Regions from separate parts of the Homo sapiens genome. Here region 1 is linked to region 2. Evidence: promoter capture Hi-C in human tissues and cell types (Jung and others, 2019). All regions are on one chromosome and are shown on one strand. Each heading gives the region's core, a stretch centred on a gene start or on the middle of the fragment in contact. The rest is flanking DNA. Distances are from core to core; before and after follow the strand shown.

Region 1 (4,305 bases), core at 548-3,047, 150 kb after region 2:
AGTAACCTGATCTGACGCTGGTGCACATAAAGGGGAGTAATTGAATCACCTTTTCGGCGACGGACTTAGGGAAGCTGTTGTGAGACGAAAGATAGAGAAAACTGATTTAGCAGTTCTTGGTTTCACCTGCCTTGGTTTTCCTTAAAAAAGGAAAAATAAATTAAAGAAGTTTGTGAAGAAGCGTCCTCACTCTCCTTTTTCTTGTCAGATTTCCAGGTAGTTGTCAATAGTTCTATCCCTGGGTCAGTAGGTTAAGTATTTGACAAGCATGTCTGATGGCTGGAAGGTTTTCCACACTTTGAAAACTGATGGATGCTGCCCCATTAACCATTTCAGGATTTTGTTCGACAAATAAAAGAGAATTTAGTTTCAGCAGTCCGCAAATCTTAGAATTTTGGGGACAGAGATGGGGACGGGGACAGATATGGGAGGACGGAGACGGCGGGGCGGTGGGGTGGTAGCAGAAATCTTTCACAAACAACTAGGGAGAGCTACAAAGAACGGTTTCTTAGGGTAGGGGATGTAGCTCAGTGGTAGAGCGCATGCTTCGCATGTATGAGGTCCCGGGTTCGATCCCCGGCATCTCCAAGTTGTTTTATCCTATCTGCCCAATACTATTAGAAACTATATTTCAAAATGTGAAATAATTGTGTTTTGTATCCTCCACTTCTTTAACTTTTTATGGCTTTCTTTTAGCCACTGTATGTAGAATTGTATATGGAGCACGGGGAACAAGATTGCTTTGAAGTATTTTGAACTATCTATGTGAAACAAATGGAATTGAGAACACAGAAAAACATGCCCAATGGGGAGATGACAGAAGAGGAGCAACCTGGAAAGTTGCCCGGAACCCATTAATGAGCCCTATTTGTGGTATATGGTTTGCCTTTAGGGCAGAAATAATCTTGGCTTGAGAACATGGAAAGGGGAGGGAAGACGGGCTATTGTTAGTCCTGTGAGTCATAGGATGATAAAAATAGGACAAATATCGAAAGAAGGATGAATCTCAGCTCAGCACGGGCGAATTTGGCTGCTCTAGTGCACCGGTCTCCCGTAGGGGAATAACAAAAATGAAAACATTCCGAAACACTGATGAAATTCTTGATGCAGTTTTTAAAACTTCTTGGAGACAGGTGGCCGGTTAGCTCAGTTGGTTAGAGCGTGGTGCTAATAACGCCAAGGTCGCGGGTTCGATCCCCGTACGGGCCAACTTTGTTTTCTTCCATCACGTAACTTACGGCCAAAGACAAGGAAAAATCAATTGTCTGAGGACTGTTACTACAAGAAAGACTGTGCTAACCTTTATAACTAACACTTTGCCAGAAGTCCAAACCTTTGTAGCAAGTCCAGAGGTCCTGTTTTCTTAAGTCATGGTGCTCAAAATGTTTGCTCATGAGAAGCAGAAAAGCAGTAGGATAGTTTAGGAGTTAGATTTAAATTCAATAGAGGGCAAAACAGTGCCACCAATTTGTTTAGTGCCCCAACACTGTCCTTGAAATAGTCTGAAAACAGATAAATCTTCAGATAATGAAATGTGGGGCAAGTGTGAGAAGGCAGTGTTCATTATCTCTGATTGCCCAATTAAGGATCCCTACTTGGGAAGATCAACACTCACACATCAAGACAGAAATTCCATTCCGAGAGAAACATTTTCTTGTTACTTTGATTTCCCAAGAAAGGACTATGCCCCTTTCCAAAATCTACCTTTTTCACATCAGCAACCTGGACCTGTTGGTCCAGGTTGGCCAACGCCGGGAATAACTGCTCAGTCCACATCTTGATGTTAAATATCCCCTGTTCCTTGTACAACTAATGCTCTCTGTTTATTTACGACCTCACAGCTGTATAGCCTGTTGAGTGATTTTTCAGGTGTTTTACTATTTTCTGTGGAAAATGCTGATCGCAACTCACGAGCTCCACGTGGGCTTTGTTAGCCCCACACCTGTGGGTGAGCTCTAGCGCTTGTCAAAAACGAAACTTACTGGGCCTCGCCTCCAGAGACTTTTACTCAGATTTGAGAAGGAACCCAGATTTCTGCGTTTTAAACAAACGCCACAGCTGTTTCTCAGAAAGGCTGTGTCAAGAGCCCTTTGAGATAACAGTCCTTAGGATTGGATTGAGGGAAAATTCGGAGAAATTCTGAGAGCCTCATTGACCTGATAATTTTTTTAACAAAATTAATTAAAGGTATTATCAGTTATAGTTGCATATAGCTACACGTACATTTAAAAAAAAAGAAATTTGGTAAATATTTAACGCATCTAAAATAATAAATGCTCAGGCGGCTCGTTGGTCTAGGGGTATGATTCTCGCTTAGGGTGCGAGAGGTCCCGGGTTCAAATCCCGGACGAGCCCTAGTTTTGTCCCTTGCTTCTGAATCTGGCTGCTTTCGCCCAACCTTAGTATATAAGTTAAAACTTGCCAGTTAGAAGCGCCGATAATTGTGGCATCGATATGCGTTAGAAACCAACAAGTGAGTTGCGATCTCTAGTTAAGGAGTTTTTTTTTGTTTTTGTTTTTTGTTTTTTTTTTTTTTTTGATTCTCTTTAGTCCGCTCTACAGACTTTTGCAAAGGCAAACGTTTCCGGATCTTCTAGAAGTTCCGACTCCACGATTGTGTTCATGTGAAATATGTTAGAAATAAAATGGTCACATCTTAATTCAATGCTATTTATTATTGATTCATTACATCAAAGGATGGATTTAAACGGGAAGATCAAGAGTCAAGGTGTTAGGAACCTTTGAGTTATTTAGACTTTCCTCGTTGCTACAGCGTCAAGTACTACTCTGTCACACAGATCACGGTTCTGCTTTCTTCTGAGAAGGAGCATTTTTTCTCTCCTCCTGGAGCGTACCATTGGTATACTCATTAAGTAGATTTTTTTTTTTAATCTGTTGTGCTGAATCTACTTTTGCGGTTGGCGGTAAACACAACATACAAAAATCACTGCATCCTATATTGTAGTGGTTGTCAGATACTTTATATTAAAATATAATTGCAACCCTGCCCCCTTTTCTACGTGTGCCTTGATTATGAAGGACAACAAATGAGCAAACATACGGGTCCCGCAAAGGTGGGAGAACACCGCAGACATTTTCTTGAGGGCCATATAGCTTGGCAGGAGGGGCAAGAATTGATGGGTTATGAGAACAAGAGAGGAACGCCTCACTGGGCCACAGAGAGGGTCCAGGAAATTGTTTGGGCTCGAGGACCTAAGGTCCTTGGGACTATGCTTGGAGCCACATTGGTAACCGGGTCTGGAGTTTTGGGAGTGCCAGTGCAGGGGTCACTCTGGTAAGCATCCAATGACACTGACTTTTAGGTCCTGGAAACATTTTGCGGCCTATCAACACAAATTGGTGAGAATGGGGAAAAGAGGGAAAATGTAGAGAAAGTGACTGGAATGCATGCTAATGATTCAGGTTACGTTTACGTCCTTTGAGTTTCATTTCATCTTACCTATAAAACCAACATAGACATTGAAATCTAGAATCCTAATCATACCAAAGAAATTATGTATTCTCTTAGTGTATTGGGGGAAGAGCTACGTTCGGGTGAGCCCGGCTAGCTCAGTCGGTAGAGCATGAGACTCTTAATCTCAGGGTCGTGGGTTCGAGCCCCACGTTGGGCGCTCTGGTTTTCAATCCTAAAATGTTTTCAGGTTTCTCATTGCGGTCCAAAAAAAGGGCATTATTAAAGCTCATCCCTCTGGAAGAAGGGAATTGTGTGATCATCGTGACCATTTTAGCCTTACTGACTTGACTGACGCATTCCAGCCTTCTCTGAAATTCTAGCTGAACTTAGTCTCAGTGATCCCTGGTGTGGATACACTTCTCTGGCCTAGAGGTTTTGTAAAACCAGATATACTTAAACATAGGTTATGTAAGTCGTTGGTAGGGCATGAGCTCTTGTATATTTAACAAGTTCCTGGGCTGATTCTAAAGCACAAATCCCAGCAAAAAAGGTTTAGGAGGCAGGAAGGACCCATGACCATGAGTTAAAAAAGCATACCACACACCTCTTCGTTGATTTCAAAAGCCCAATTAGCCACATACCTTCCTCTCACTTCACTAACATAGTTCTCATCTCTTCAGGTCTCAGGACAATATAAAGAAAATGCTCTAGCTCAGGTGTCCAAGACTGGCTGTACATGTGAATCACCTGAGGCACTTCTAAAATTTTAGATTCCTGGGCTCACAGGATCTGAATCTCCAGTGGTTTAGAAACCATTGTTTTATAAGGTCCTTTTTTAATTTTATGATACATATAGCAAGTTGGCTGCCTACTCAGTCTAGAATTCCACA
Region 2 (4,361 bases), core at 1-2,500:
TCTACCAGATGGAAAAGAACGTTGTAGTACCTAAGAAAATTAGGCCTTATCACCAAGAAGAAAGGGGGAATGCATGATGCAGAAGGGACCAGCCATCTCAATCAGATACTACACAGTCTAAATTCAAACATTTACAATATAATTAAATTGCATCAGCCCCAGTCACATCTTAGCCTTAGGAACTTCGATCATTGACTTGCAATCCCAGAAAGTCTGTTTTGAGGTCCTAGGCCACAGGAAGAACCAATTTGTTTTATAGACATCTTACAGAGACAGCATTCACAGTTTATCTAGAGTCTGGCCTCAGAGAATATGTACTCCACTGGCAGCAGGAGAAACAAATACACAGGAAAATACAGTGTAGCACAGAACAGGAGCTGAGGGTGAATGGAGATGCTCAGAAACACCTGCACTAAAAATTTGCTGAAAAAGGTAAAACGTGTCAAGCAGCACTGCCTCTGGAAGCCAGAAAAATTACATTTTTTGATAACAGATCCTAAGCCTGGATGCTGGAGGTGCTTAAAAATGTGCATTGTGGGCCGGGTGCAGTGGCTTAAGCCTGTAATCCTAGCACTTTGGGATCTGAGGAGGGAGGATCACTTGAGCTCAGGAGTTTGAGACCAGCCTGGCCAATATGGCAAAACCCTGTCTCTACTAAAAATACAAAAAGTAGCCGGGCATGGGGCGAGCACCTGTAATCCCAGTTATTCAGGAGCTGAGGCAGGAAAATCACTTGAACCTGGGAGGCGAAGGTTGCAGTGAGCCAAGATCCTGCAACTGCACTCCAACCTGGGTGACAGAGTGAAACTCCGTTTCAAAAAAAAAGTGCATTGTGTCTGGTTTTCTTTCCATTCATACGTTTATTTGACTCTGTAGTAAAATCTCCTCCTCCTCCATGTACCCATATTCATGCAAGCAAATGTTAGCAAACTGCCACAGTAGCATTTTAATTAGTGCTCATCTTTCTCTCTTCACCACATTAAAATCTTTTCCCATTGTGTTCTGCTGATATTTCTATTATGATAAAAGACTTAAGACAAGTGACTATATAGAAATACGTATATACACACAAGAATGAAAGAGATAAACAGTAAGGGAGGTAGGGCAGGAATTTTTCTTCAACGTGTACAATTCAATGTACTTTCAGTTTTCATTTCAGCCTTCCTCAGTGGTTTCTGCCCAGCAACTGATGAGAAACATCACCTCTGAGCCAATCAAAAAACTTATTCTTCCAAAGAGAGATTGTTATTATTCCTCACGATGACCCGACAGTCTCTGCTTTCTTTTTCCTTTCTTCCAGAAGGAGATTTAACCATAGTAGAAAGAATGGAGAACTATTAACTGCCTTTCTTCTGTGGGCTGTGATTTTCAGAGGGGAATGCTAAGAGGTGAGTGGGGGAAGTCGATTAGAGCCTGGTTCACAATGCCTGGGAGGACAGGGGCTGAATCGCTGAGAGTGGTGAGTGGGCATGCAGGGAGAGTACTCACCCAGAGAAAGGGGTGTGTGCCTGAGGGGGTGCGCACGCACACATGTGGACACATGGAAAGGGGAGAAGTAGTGCAAAGAATAAAGACCTGCAGAGTTTGGGATTTGGTGAAGAAATAGTCTAATTGCATGTTCTTAAGAACGTATTGTAGTCAGAAAAGGGCAAACAATCTTTAAAATCTGTTCTGGACAACTCAAGGCATCTATTCTAAGAGATTCTAAAAAGAGGTGTCCTTTATAGATTCATATGTAAATTTGTTCATTACAGAAGTATTAAAAATGTAGAAAAACCTGAACCAGCATACATATACAACAGGCGGGGGATAGACAAACAATGCATGGTTCAATCATAAAAGAGATTTCCATGCAGCCTTTAGGAATCGTGTTTTTAATGAAGGGCAATTATTTATAATTTTAGCAATGTTAGATCCATACATTAAACCTTGTTTTAAAATCTTTTAGGAACAGTATGTGTTTTTCCTTTTATTCATCATTTCCCCCAAACCTAACGAATGCTATCCAATGGATACAATCTATTTCATTGTATGAATATACAATTTTTTTGTTTGTTTTGAGATGCAGTCTTGCTCTATCACCCAGGCTGGAGTGCAGTGGCATGTTCTCGGCTTACTGCAGCCTCTGCTTCCTGGGTTCCAGTGATTCTCCTGCCTCAGTCTCCTGGGTAGCTGAGATTACAGGTGCACGCCACCACACCCAGCTAGTTTTTGTATTTTTAGTAGATTCGGAGTTTCGCCATATTGTCTAGGCTGGTCTCAAACTCCTGACCTCAGGTGATCTGCCCACCTCAGCCTCCCAAAGAGCTGGGATTACAGGCGTGAGCCACCACACCCAGCCTTTAAAATTATTTTTAAACACTTCCCTAGTTTGGACTATTTCTCTTTTCTGCATTTGGCTATTGTAGATTTTACTGTATTGAGCAGCCTAAAACATAAATTTTTGTCTTAGTTCCTGATTTTCTTTTTTCTGCAACACTAATTCCTACAAGTGGAACATTTGGGTCAAAGCACACACCTTTTTTTTTTCTTTTAATAGCCATTCCTTAGCAAAGCATATAACTTTTTTTAAGGCCCTTTATATATATATGGTCAAAATACTTCCAGAAATATTTACCTTTTCACTACCAAAGTATATGACTACTACTATAGATATTTTATTTTATTTATTGATTGATTTGTAGAGATGGGGTTTCATTATGTTGACCAGGCTGGTCTTGAATTCCTGGGCTCCAGGGATCCTCCCATCTCAACTTCCCAAATTGCAAGGATTACAGGCATGAACCACTACTTAAACTTGTATTCCTTTATGCTTTTTTTCATTTGCAATATTGACTATAATCAGGAAAAAAAATATATCCTTTATGAAGAAGAAAAACTTATGTCTCATTCTAAGGACAGCAGAGAAATTGTTAACTCAGGGAAAATGATAATAAAAATGATACCCCCTCTATAGCAACATAAAGAGCAGTTTCGAGGAGCAAAAGATGTGGTGAAATGCATTGTTTACTCTGGGTGGGTGCAAGATCCAGGCAGGGGTGAAGCATGGCCGGCTGCACAGATCTCTGTTCTCTTGTTTCCTTTACATCCCTCCCCACCTCCCTCTGCAGATCTTGTTCTCAGAGGCCATTCCCAGACCCACAGCAAGAGGGATTATGGCTGCAGGCCTCATGCTCCTTTGTTTTGGAAGAAACTGTTGAGGAGTTAGTATTTACTGAGCAGCTAATATGTTCCCGTCACTATTGTAACTCATAATAATTATTGTTAAGTAATACACGAAAAGTTTTAAATTTAAAGCATTCCAATATTTTAAAAGTAAAGGGAACAAAAGGCCAAGTGTCCCTTCACTCACTAACCTCTGATCTTCAGATTAGCATGCGTCTTTTTTGAGTTTTTCAGGCATTTACATAAATAGTTATGCAGAAATGGATAGCTTTGCTTCTGTTCTTCAATTGAATCTTTAGTATAGTTGTGCAAGGTGTTTTTTGATCACTTAGTGTGTCTCCGTTATCTAGGTTCATGACAACAAATCAACTCTTTTTACCTGCTGCATTGAATTCCCTCCGAGGGATGAGCCGTCATTCCTCTAAGCAGTCTCCTGATGGGTGGCTGGTTCAGTTGGTTACCATTTTTATACTTTAAAAATAGTGCTGCAGTGTCATTCTCACAGAGGCTTCTGTCTGCACCCATGCAAGTACTTTGCTCGACTTGACATCAGGAAGTGGAACTGCTGGGCCAACTGTGCAATTCTAAATTTCACACTTCATGATATTGTATAAGTAAATAAAGTTGCAATGGTTTTGTCCCATGTCTGAGACCAAAGAGCTTGTGAATCTTAGAGCCTTTACTTATTGCTTACCCTCTTTGTGTCCCTAACCCTTATATCATGGGCCTGGCCCCTTGTGGGTGCTTGGTAAATATTTGTTGAATGACTTTATGAAGGGAAGAAAGAAAAGGTAAGTAAGGCCTGGTCTTATTTGCAGCTCTGTGATCACTAGCCTTGGATTAAATGTGGTGGGTTCAGCCCCTGACTGACTTCAGGTCCCCCACCAAGCAGTCTTCCTTAATCCTACCAGGAGTCCACTAGGCCATGAGTTGACCATGGTGATGGCCAAGAGTTGGGGCTTTGAGGAGTCCACAGTGTGGGACACCCACAGCGGTCGACCCCGGTGGAACCAGGGAGCCCAGTGAAGAGTGTCCTGCATGAATCAGAGGGGGATTGTGGTGGGTTGGACTTGGCAGGGGAAGTTTGGGGAAGTCATAGGATTCTGAATATTGTTAAACAGTACAGTGAGGATTTTCTGATCGAATAACAGATGTGCATTTCACATAGACATGTTTTTACAGGTGATTTTCAATGT

Evidence for each region. The method cuts DNA at HindIII sites, captures the fragments that hold promoters and counts their contacts. A contact is called where the count stands out against the background at its distance.
Region 1: a contact is called between a fragment that was not itself captured here and the fragment with the promoter of BTN3A1 in region 2, in 1 of the 25 tissues and cell types used here (spleen).

Annotation. Positions count from the first base shown.
Region 1 is chr6:26,552,987-26,557,291 of GRCh38, forward strand. It overlaps TRA-CGC1-1 (tRNA-Ala (anticodon CGC) 1-1), which reads left to right and starts at 517; the gene lies at 517-588. TRI-AAT5-1 (tRNA-Ile (anticodon AAT) 5-1) reads left to right here and starts at 1,136; the gene lies at 1,136-1,209. TRP-AGG2-2 (tRNA-Pro (anticodon AGG) 2-2) reads left to right here and starts at 2,284; the gene lies at 2,284-2,355. It overlaps TRK-CTT2-4 (tRNA-Lys (anticodon CTT) 2-4), which reads left to right and starts at 3,560; the gene lies at 3,560-3,632. RefSeq lists a cis regulatory region at 200-1,410 and silencers at 473-522, 1,113-1,202. The HindIII fragment of the contact is 6,659 bases long and covers 1-4,305 here.
Region 2 is chr6:26,401,025-26,405,385 of GRCh38, forward strand. It overlaps BTN3A1 (butyrophilin subfamily 3 member A1), which reads left to right and starts at 1,251. Exons shown (of 10, transcript NM_007048.6): 1 at 1,251-1,388; 2 at 4,348-4,361. RefSeq lists an enhancer at 1,159-1,218. The HindIII fragment of the contact is 20,018 bases long and covers 1-4,361 here.